Linked DNA regions of Homo sapiens: region 1 is linked to region 2. Evidence: promoter capture Hi-C in 16 types of primary human blood cells and fetal thymus (Javierre and others, 2016). All regions are on one chromosome and are shown on one strand. The core of a region is centred on a gene start or on the middle of the fragment in contact, and the rest is flanking DNA. Distances in the headings are between cores, read along the strand shown. Region 1 overlaps SELE (selectin E). Region 2 holds the start of F5 (coagulation factor V).

Region 1 (4,776 bases), core at 1,688-4,187, 140 kb after region 2:
TTCAACATGAATAGCACCCCCTGGAGTTGTACAATATTAGGCACGACTAACATTTTTATTTCCTGAAACACTTCCCACACTGAGTTGTACTACTAACTCTTTTCTTAATACTTCTGCTTAATTATACTGCATTTTATCCAGATTCTAATTATTGTTTAAATCAGTAAGCAAGACCATGACTTATCAATGAGAAAGAAATGTATTTTCAAAAACATTTTTGAAGTACATTCATAAACTTCCTCACCTTTCCGTAAGCATTTCCGAAGCCAGAGGAGAAATGGTGCTAATGTCAGGAGGGAGAGTCCAGCAGCAGAAAGTCCAGCTACCAAGGGAATGTTGGACTCAGTGGGAGCTAAGGAAGTAAGAGACGAAGAAAGGTCATGAGGAAGAATTGATGTTAAAGTCTCTCCGTCCTGTCCCTTTGGCCTTTTTTCTGTACATTCATTACTAGGAGCAGAAGAGCTATCTAGTTTAATACAAGAAGCAGAGATGTGGCATTACAGGCCTTTGAGATCTGCTCCAAGCCACCTTTGAAGCTATTTCCACCATTGGCAGGCAGAACTCTAACTTGCCAAGCTCGTTCACAATACCACACCACACCTTGGTTAATAAACACTGCACTTGCTTGCTCTCTTGCTCTCACTCCCTCTTGTTTTCCATTTCCCCTTTCTCCTCTCCTCTCTCTGTCTCCTTTTTCCAGTTGTCAGAATTCTACCCTTTCCATCAACATGCAACTTCTGTTTTTTCTCTATCCCCATACAACTTAATATTCACAACTTGTCAACCTGGGCGAACTTTCTGGTTTGGATATAATGAATAGTTGATTACTGTAACAAGATAGCTCCCCCTTTTTCTTTTTAATCACCAGACAACCACCATCAATCAATGCATCACCTTCACAGGTAGGTAGCAGGCCAGACCAGTGTCCTGTGGCTCCACATGTCCGAGCTGCAGAGCCATTGAGCGTCCATCCTTCAGGACAGGCGAACTTGCACACAGTGCCAAACACGGGCTCCCCACTGCAGCTCATGTTGATCTTTCCCGGAACTGCCAGGCTTGAACATTTTACCACTGCAAATGTTAGGTACACAGGCAGAGTTTCAGAAAAATCTACTGGAAAACTTCCAAAACTTGCTTAAAAGTCAACAATGAATGTAAAGTGTAAGCGCTACTTAGTTTTCAGCATGTAGGAAATTAGGACCAAACCCCTTTGGGGCAATCTAGGTTCAGAAACTTTATGAAGTATTTGACCTGTACCCTAAAAAAGTCTGCACTCAATTCTACCTTGGCAGGAAGGAACCTCTTCTGTCCATTGTCCCTGAGATGTGCACTCAAGTTGAGTTGATCCATGTAATTCAAATCCCTCCTCACAGCTGAAGGCACAAGAGGACTTGTAGGTGAATTCTCCAATAGGGGAATGAGCACACCTCACCAAACCCTTCGGGGGCTGGTGGACAGCATCGCATCTCACAGCTGGAACACACGAGAGAGCACTTTAGAAGTTTGTTTGCATCTCCAGCAATACGTTTCCCAAGGTAACCAAGTTCCCAAGCTCTTCAATAGTTCTTTTTATCTTAAAATAAAATAAAAACAAAGACTGTACCTTCACATGTGGGCTTCTCGTTGTCCCACTCCCCTGTGGGGCCACATTGGAGCCTTTTGGATCCCTTCAACACAAAACCCTGCTCACAGGAGAACTCACAGCTGGACCCATAACGGAAACTGCCAGAAGCACTAGGAAGACAATTCATGTAGCCTCGCTCGGGGTTGGACAAGGCTGTGCACTGGAAAGCTGAGACATCAAAATGATGGTCAGAAAATATTGCAGTGGAACTAGAGAGTACTTGGCGTTTGTTGAGTGAACCCAGTTCATTCAAGCAACACTTGGAGAACTGAAGATTCTTTATAATTCCCTGGACAAATGGGAAGATGGCTGTGTTTTCTTTGAATTTCAGCCCCCTCACTGATCATGGCACTAATTAAAAGACTAATTAATCAGAACATTAGTTCCTGAGCACTGTTCTTCTAACACACAAAATAAATTATGGTCCAAGGAAAGATTTCACGCAGTCTGAGGACAACATATGGGTCATGGATGTTTATAGATGGTGCCAAAAAGAAAGAAAAGAAAGCACCCCTATAAAATTTGTCTGTTTTGCAGTTTGGTTTTTGTGTTATGTTTTGCTACTGGAAATCATTCTGTGCTGGCTTTGGCTAGGACAAGGCCAGTGCCTGATAGTAAAAACTGCTTGTTTTCAATATCCTTGCTCTCACTTTAAAGTGAATTAAAATTTACTGCTTATATATGCATCAATACTATCTCTGTAGCTGACACCATGCTTGAAACAGTCTCATCACTGCTAATTATGAGCCATTTCAGAAGACAGGTGTGATGAGAGTTTTACATTCAAATCATGTTCTCATTATTCTGCTTTCCGAATTTTCTAATATGATTCCTTTAGATTAAGAATTCTGTCTATTCCATGCTAATGTCTACAAAGTTTTATCAGCACATCACAGTTAAAAAAAAACAGCAAAGAATTCATTCTTAACACATATGATCCTTTCCCTGGCCAAACATTAGTTCTTTTAAATGAATCTCAAAGATACGAGGGTTGCTCATCAAATCTGATTTCTATAGTTAAAGTGGGTATTGGTTTTTTTTTTCACTGTCCAAGTTTGAAGATGGTTGTTCTTTAAGAAAGTATAAATCGAAGGATCTCAAGCTTACCTTCACAAACTGGGATTTGCTGTGTCCACTGCCCTTGAGTGGTGCATTCAACCTGGGCTGGTCCCTGCAACATGAAGCCTTCCTCACAGGTGAAGTTGCAGGATGATTTGAAGGTGAACTCTCCAGCAGGGGAATGGCTGCACCTCACAGAGCCATTCTGAGGCTGGCGGACGGCCCTGCATGTCACAGCTGTAACAAATATACGCATTGATATTAGCACGGCCTAGAATTAGCTTGCCCATTTCCAGTATGGGTTGAGAGAAAGAATGTTCACAGTAAGTCTCCATGTGGAACAACTCTACCTTTACACGTTGGCTTCTCGTTGTCCCAATTCCCAGATGAGGTACACTGAAGGCTCTGGGCTCCCATTAGTTCAAATCCTTCTTCACAGTCAAATGTACAGGTTGTGTTCCATGGGAAGCTTCCAGGGTTTTGGAAACATTCCACGAACCCATTGGCTGGATTTGTCACAGCATCACACTCAACCACTGAGGATTTTAAAGAGCACCATGAATTTTACAGAAGAATGATCTTTTCACTTCCTATTGAGCTGGGTGCCTAACAGAGTGAGGAAGCTGCCTTCAAAGGGTAGATCCCAAAGTCCTATGTCAATTCTTAGGGACATGCACAGCCAGAATAAAAGCTTTTATTCTTTTTCATGGATATTCTATCTTTTCTGATTTCCACTTTGCCTATGCTGAGTGGTCTCTAATCTATGTTATCATTTACGTGAGGTAAAAATTTAAAAAAAATAGATTCCAGATTAGGAGTTATGACTAGTACTGACATACGTAGGCTATTCATTTATTTTAGCCCATCAGAGCCTGAAGAACTGATTTTTCTTTTTTTGGCCTCTGGTTCAGAAAGATAAAATTAAGAGAGAAAAAGAGATACTAAGACTGCTTGACTATCATGGTCTTAAGTTAGTCCCATGGCTTGGAAAAGTTAAACAGGGAAACAAGATGAGAAATCCATTGAGATTTCTAGAGCTTTATTGTTTTATGGTCTCCCTTACAAATCACCAGAGCCTCAGAAACACCCATTTCAAGCATAGAATAAAAAAACCTCTCTCAACCCAAGCAGGTACTGGGTTGGCAATATACATTGGCTGAGAGAACAAATTGTATTAAAAACAAAAACAAAAAAAAAACTTTCCCTGAAGTTTTGAAAATGTAAGTTGAATCAAAAAACAGAAGCAATGAGGGATGAGTTACAGAACGTTCTGTGCATTCTCAGAGGGATTTACCATTGCAGGCTGGAATAGGAGCACTCCATTCTCCAGAGGACATACACTGCATGGTCTCCATGCTGCTTGGCAGGTAACCCCTATCACAGCTGATAGAGCAGGAAGAATTGTAGCTGAAGTTTCCCAGTGGGTGACTGCAAACCAGGCTTCCATGCTCAGGGGATTCCAGGGCTGTACAGTTCACAACTGAAAAAGAAACCCAAATCAGTTCTGCTCATCTCTCACCTTTAACAGATAAGAACACTGGAAACTAGAACTACAGTTTGGTTTTTTTTTTTTTTAGTTTAAAAATTTATAAAATTTCTAATGGAATTTGTAAAATTGACTGTAATTCTACCCCTTTTCTTTTATTCAAGAAAATGCTGATCCATAACAACAACAACAAAAAAGCAGTGATGACAACCATAAAAAAGAAATATTGAGTGATATGGGGAGAGTAGTGTAATTGTGTTTACCTCAAAACTGTTCAAATTATATGAACAAACACAGCAAACTTAGGTACCACAACAAATTTCTTGTTACTTTTCTCACAACTGCTAAAAATACTACAGTAAGCTTCCAACCAGGATGAGAACCATTCACAAAGCTATATTTCAAATTTAAGTACTAGAATACATTACAAATTTTAAAACCCTAATGCTGCACTGTCTACTATAGTAGCCACTATCTGTGTGGCTACTCAAATTTAAACTTGAATTCGTTGAAATCAAATAACATTTAAAATTCAGTTCCTCAGTGTCACCAGCCACATTTCAAGTACTCAATAACCACATGTGGCTCATAGGTACACACTGGAAAA
Region 2 (4,699 bases), core at 933-3,432:
GATCATATGAATTCAAACAATGTGTACGACGAGTTTTTCATTTATAAGGATTGTTTAAAGATGATTTGTTCATAATCACAAAATCATATAAAGCTAGAACCCTAGAAGGAAAATGTATGTATATCTTTTCTTCAATATCTCTTTGTATACATGTGAGTGACTAAACAAGTTTTCTAAGGAAATTTTTGAAAGTGTTCACCTTAGACTTGGAGCAAGAATAATAGATACATTTTACCTTTAAAAGGCATTGTCCTGCTAATATTATATGAAATAAGTAGATAGATGTCTGCTTTGTGCTAAAATACACTTTGCCAAAAGATGGAGTTGGCTATGTTGATATTCACCTAGTGAGTATCATAGCTCTAGGGGCAGGACAAGTTAGAACAAGTTCTTAGTTTAAGCAGCCAGATATATGGATTAGATTTTTCATAAGAAAATGCTAGAGAGAAATGATATGATTTAGGGTTAAACAATATGACAGTTTGTCTGGGTTGTGTTTCTATGGTTTTGACTCAACAATTCCTACCAGAGGAACGAATCTCCAGAACTTTGGAAACTTACCCACAGGATGAGGGGACAGAATGACCAGTCATGGTTCCCTGTGTACTCACCATGTGAATCAGACCTTTGCCCTATCTGGTTCTGCCTCCGGTATTTTGCTTGTTATTTTCAACGCTAACTACAGACAAGAGAAAAAACTCCCAAGCATGAACCCAGCATGCTACAAGAAAGCCAACAACCAAGTCTGCATTCTACTCATGAGCAGGCAAGATTAGTGTTAGAAGGACTGTTATTTTCCTTGGGGTTTTAGCTTACGGCAGTTCCCAAAGGGTGTGGGTGTGACCTAGATTATCACTTTGAAGTACGATATTTAAAATGATTATTTTTGAGAAGGAGGGATCTCTTCTTATTATAAGACCAAGATGGTATGTAATACCCTCCAAAATAACCCAGTTACAATGAGAGTTTTAAAAAGGTTAATATTATACACTAAAAGATCTCAAAATATTACATTATTTTTTGGCAGATTACTTTGGTTTTGTAATTGTAAAAGAGGAACACATCTTTCATAATGAAGTGTGATGTAAGGAAAAAAAGTGAGTCACACTAGCAGGTTTACCATTTAAAAAATAACTAACTGGAAATATTGAATAGACTGTATGATTTAGTTAATTTCTGAGAAGTCTTATTTTTAACATTTCAATTAGAAAAAATAGTTTGCAACTCAAGGATAGTATTTTATCTGAATTAAACCTCCTCTCAGTTACATATGCCTTTAAGTAGCCAAGGTAAACCATATCCCAGGACATGATGAACAGAGAGAAAAAAAAATGAAGAGTCACATTCAATAGGATAAATAAGTCAAATATGAAGCAGAAAAAAGGTGAAAGTACAAAAACATACAAGAACTGATGATATTTTGAAAGTCATTTATAAGGCAGCAATAAAATTATATGACAAAAAGCACAAGGTGTTCATTTTTAGTTTTAGAAGATGAAGCTATGTAGACAATGGAATAAATAATATGTAACTAGGAGTCTCATAAAAATACTATACAACTAAAAATCTGGAACAGGAGTTTGCAGGAAGGGCTAATGAGGGAGCAAGTGCCTGGTGCCTTTGAATTAACCAATATATAAGCCAACACAAACATACTAACAAAACTGTATTGAAAATAAACTTGAAAAGAAGGTAGCATCTAACCAATCAAATAGGGTGCTTTCTAAACCCTCAGAATGATAAACTACATTGTTGGATGCAAAATTAGCATTTGCCCAGTTTATTTAATTCAGTATACTCTCCTATTAGTTATATTTACTTACCTGAAGTTAAAAAAAAAAAAAGCCATGACATTGCAAAGGGAATGTTCTCTAAAAGAAATAGATTTTCCTCTCTAGAGAAGCCCACCCGGACTCCACACCTGAGTTACCTTGAGTTTGTGGGCTCAGGTCGGTAGCTCCAACTGATGCCCTGAGCAGCCACGTAGAACTGCCTTAGCTGTGCCGCTTCTGTCCCTTGGCTCCCCCAGCCTACCCAGCTGGTGCCCAAGACCACCAGGACCCAGAGGCGTGGGCAGCCTGGGAACATGCTTCCTTTCCTGCTCCCGCTGGCTGCCACCACCCCAGGACCTGGGCAGCGCTTGCCGAGCTGCTAACCACACTCCGGGCTGTCCCAGCTGCAATGAGCTCTAGAGGCTGTGGGTGGCAGCGTCCTCCTCCCCTGCAGTTCTTGCAAACGGCAGCAGCAGCCTCTGGCTCTCACTCCCTCCGCTTTTTCTGGGGCTTTTCCTGGCAGGGGTTTGGTGAGATCACAGCTCCCAGTGACCAGAGGTATTAGGGAGAGCAACCAAACTAGTGACTGTTTTACTGCAGGTGAAGAAGGGGCAGAGATCAGAGGCTCTAGCAGGCGGGACAATGCCCAGGGATTCATGAGCCGGACAAAGCTGTATCCCTCCATTTCCACCTGCCAACACCACGGAAGCAGTCGTCCGTTACCACTGACCTGAGGCCTGCCTGGGTCCAAGCTCACACTTGGAGAACCTTCTGTGCAGTGCAGTGGCACCCAACCACCTTAAGCAGATGGCTCCCCTTTTAATCTGAGGAAAAGAGTATTGTGCCCTGTTACTGGGCACTGAAACACTATTTTCAAGTGGTGAAGAAGCAGGGAACAAACACATGGACAAGGCCTACTGCTCTGAATCGCCTTCCTGGCCTCTATCAAGGCACAGTTCTGCCTTGATAAGGGCCTGTCGCCAGCTAAGCTGCAGCATAGCAGCGGGCTTGAAGAGCTTGGCTGAAAAAAATCAGTTGTCCAGATTTCAGTTTCACTTACTAGCTGTGTTGTCTTGGGCAAGTTACTGTACCTCTCTGTTCAGTTTTGACATCTGTGAAATAAGGATGACAATAATAATTTTTCCTGATAGGGTATGTTGGGAGGATAAAATGCTACTGTAAACTATAGTTCCAGCACTTAACACACAGAGGCTAGGCGCAGTGGCTCACGCCTGTAATCCCAGTACTTTGGGAGGCCAAGGCGGGTGAATCACCTGAGGTCAGGAGTTCAAGACCAGCCTGGCCAACATGGTGAAACCCTTCTCTACTAAAAATATAAAAAATTAGCCGGGCGTTGTGGTGGACACCTGTAATCCCACCTACTCGAGAGATTGAGGCAAGAGAATTGCTTGAACCTGGAAGGTGGAGTTTGCAGTGAGCTGATATCATGCCATTTTACTCCAGCCTGGGCAACGAGAGCAAAACTCCATCAAAAAAAAAAAAGAAAGAAAGAAAAAGAAAGAAAGAGAAAAAGAGAGAAAGAAGGAATCACAAATTTATTATTATGATCATATTTTCCTGTCTCCAGGACCCCTTGTATTCTTGTTTTTCTTGAAGGATCTGACTGTTTCACAGCACCTTAAATCTTACTTTGCTATTGATAGAGAATCTGCGAATTATATTGTCTGAGGCATCATAATGACTTGTCCTGGGTTCCCTGTATCTGCATGGCTCCAGGTTTCTGTCTTATGCTTTATGCATTCAGTACATTCAATAAATTGTAATCTGGCACCTCACATGAGGTCTCTGTTAATGATATCAGGCTCATCAACAGCCTCTTCCTCCCTCCCCACTCCCCCCAATATTCTGTCTTTTCTCCTGTGCTGATATTATTGCACCAACTTAGAATGCCCATTTTCTTCCTCTTTGCTGGGCCATTCTTTACAGTCCAGAGTTCTGCCTATCTCCCAGATTCTGGGCTCAAATTGGCTTTTCCATTTTATGAACTATTACAACACTATTCAAATTATATAATCATGTTAATTACCTTTTGTTATTCCATGCAGGTATCTATTGTCTCCCTAACTGAACAGTTGCTTACACTTCTTTATCTACAATATTATCAGTGTCTCCCAAAGTTGGCAGACCATCAGAATTCCCAGGGGAACTTTTACAAAATGTAGATTCTGACTCAGGAAACAGGGTTGAGACCAAAGTCCTAGAACACCTAGCCTACTGATTGACATTTAAATAAGCAGTCAGAGATGCTACTGGCAGTGTATCAGAGAAACGTTTTGAAAGCACTGTGTCCCTAAATCCCAAGGTTACTACCAGAATTGTTGCAACATTATTGTAACCTTTGAGTAGGCTGCTTTTTTATTTGCATGTTTGCTTATGTATATACAGTGTACATGACATATTTATTTAATTACATTTTACAGAGACAAGATGACTACTATAATTTTTGGCTCTCTATTTTTTTTAACATCAGTTCCAGATAAATACTATATAACTTTCAATGACCTATTTATTAAACATGGGATTTAAAGAACATGTAAAACACATTTGTTCTTCCCTGTAAAATATTAAGGTGATGAAGAATTTTTCCATTTCTCTGATTTTCTCTTGCAGTGTAGGGTGTGCGATACATATTTGCTGACTGAATGAATGGTTGAGGTGTAAATAGGACAACCATAATTGTGTGTTATTACACTGATGGTAAACAATGTGATGTATACAGACCTTACTGAACAAACCATAAAATAGAGGAACACGGCATTTGGGGAAAATTCTTTTAATTACGCATTTGAATATTGGTCTTTGGGTCATTTGAGGGACAGTGACTGGTGGCAGGAAGGTCCACGGTGACATGTGGCCTTCTAGCTTGATTCTTGGCCTTCTGCAGCCTCTGGTGCCATCCAGAGGAC

What was found. Contacts are between HindIII fragments. The CHiCAGO score rates a contact against its expected background, and 5 or more counts as called.
Region 1: a fragment that was not itself captured here is called in contact with the fragment with the promoter of F5 in region 2 in 11 of 17 cell types (neutrophils, activated CD4 T cells, non-activated CD4 T cells and 8 more); the score reaches 12.4 in neutrophils.

Annotation. Positions count from the first base shown.
Region 1 is chr1:169,726,455-169,731,230 of GRCh38, forward strand. SELE (selectin E) reads right to left here. Exons shown (of 14, transcript NM_000450.2): 5 at 3,978-4,163; 6 at 3,034-3,219; 7 at 2,732-2,920; 8 at 1,604-1,792; 9 at 1,285-1,473; 10 at 895-1,071; 11 at 245-352. Among named protein-coding and RNA genes, the nearest start is that of SELE, 5.2 kb to the right of the region's middle. The HindIII fragment of the contact is 426 bases long and covers 2,725-3,150 here.
Region 2 is chr1:169,584,299-169,588,997 of GRCh38, forward strand. It overlaps F5 (coagulation factor V), which reads right to left and starts at 2,183. Exons shown (of 25, transcript NM_000130.5): 1 at 1,931-2,183. The coding sequence starts at 2,088. It overlaps SELP (selectin P), which reads right to left. Exons shown (of 17, transcript NM_003005.4): 17 at 4,551-4,699. RefSeq lists enhancers at 1,657-2,158, 2,159-2,658. The HindIII fragment of the contact is 11,391 bases long and covers 1-4,699 here.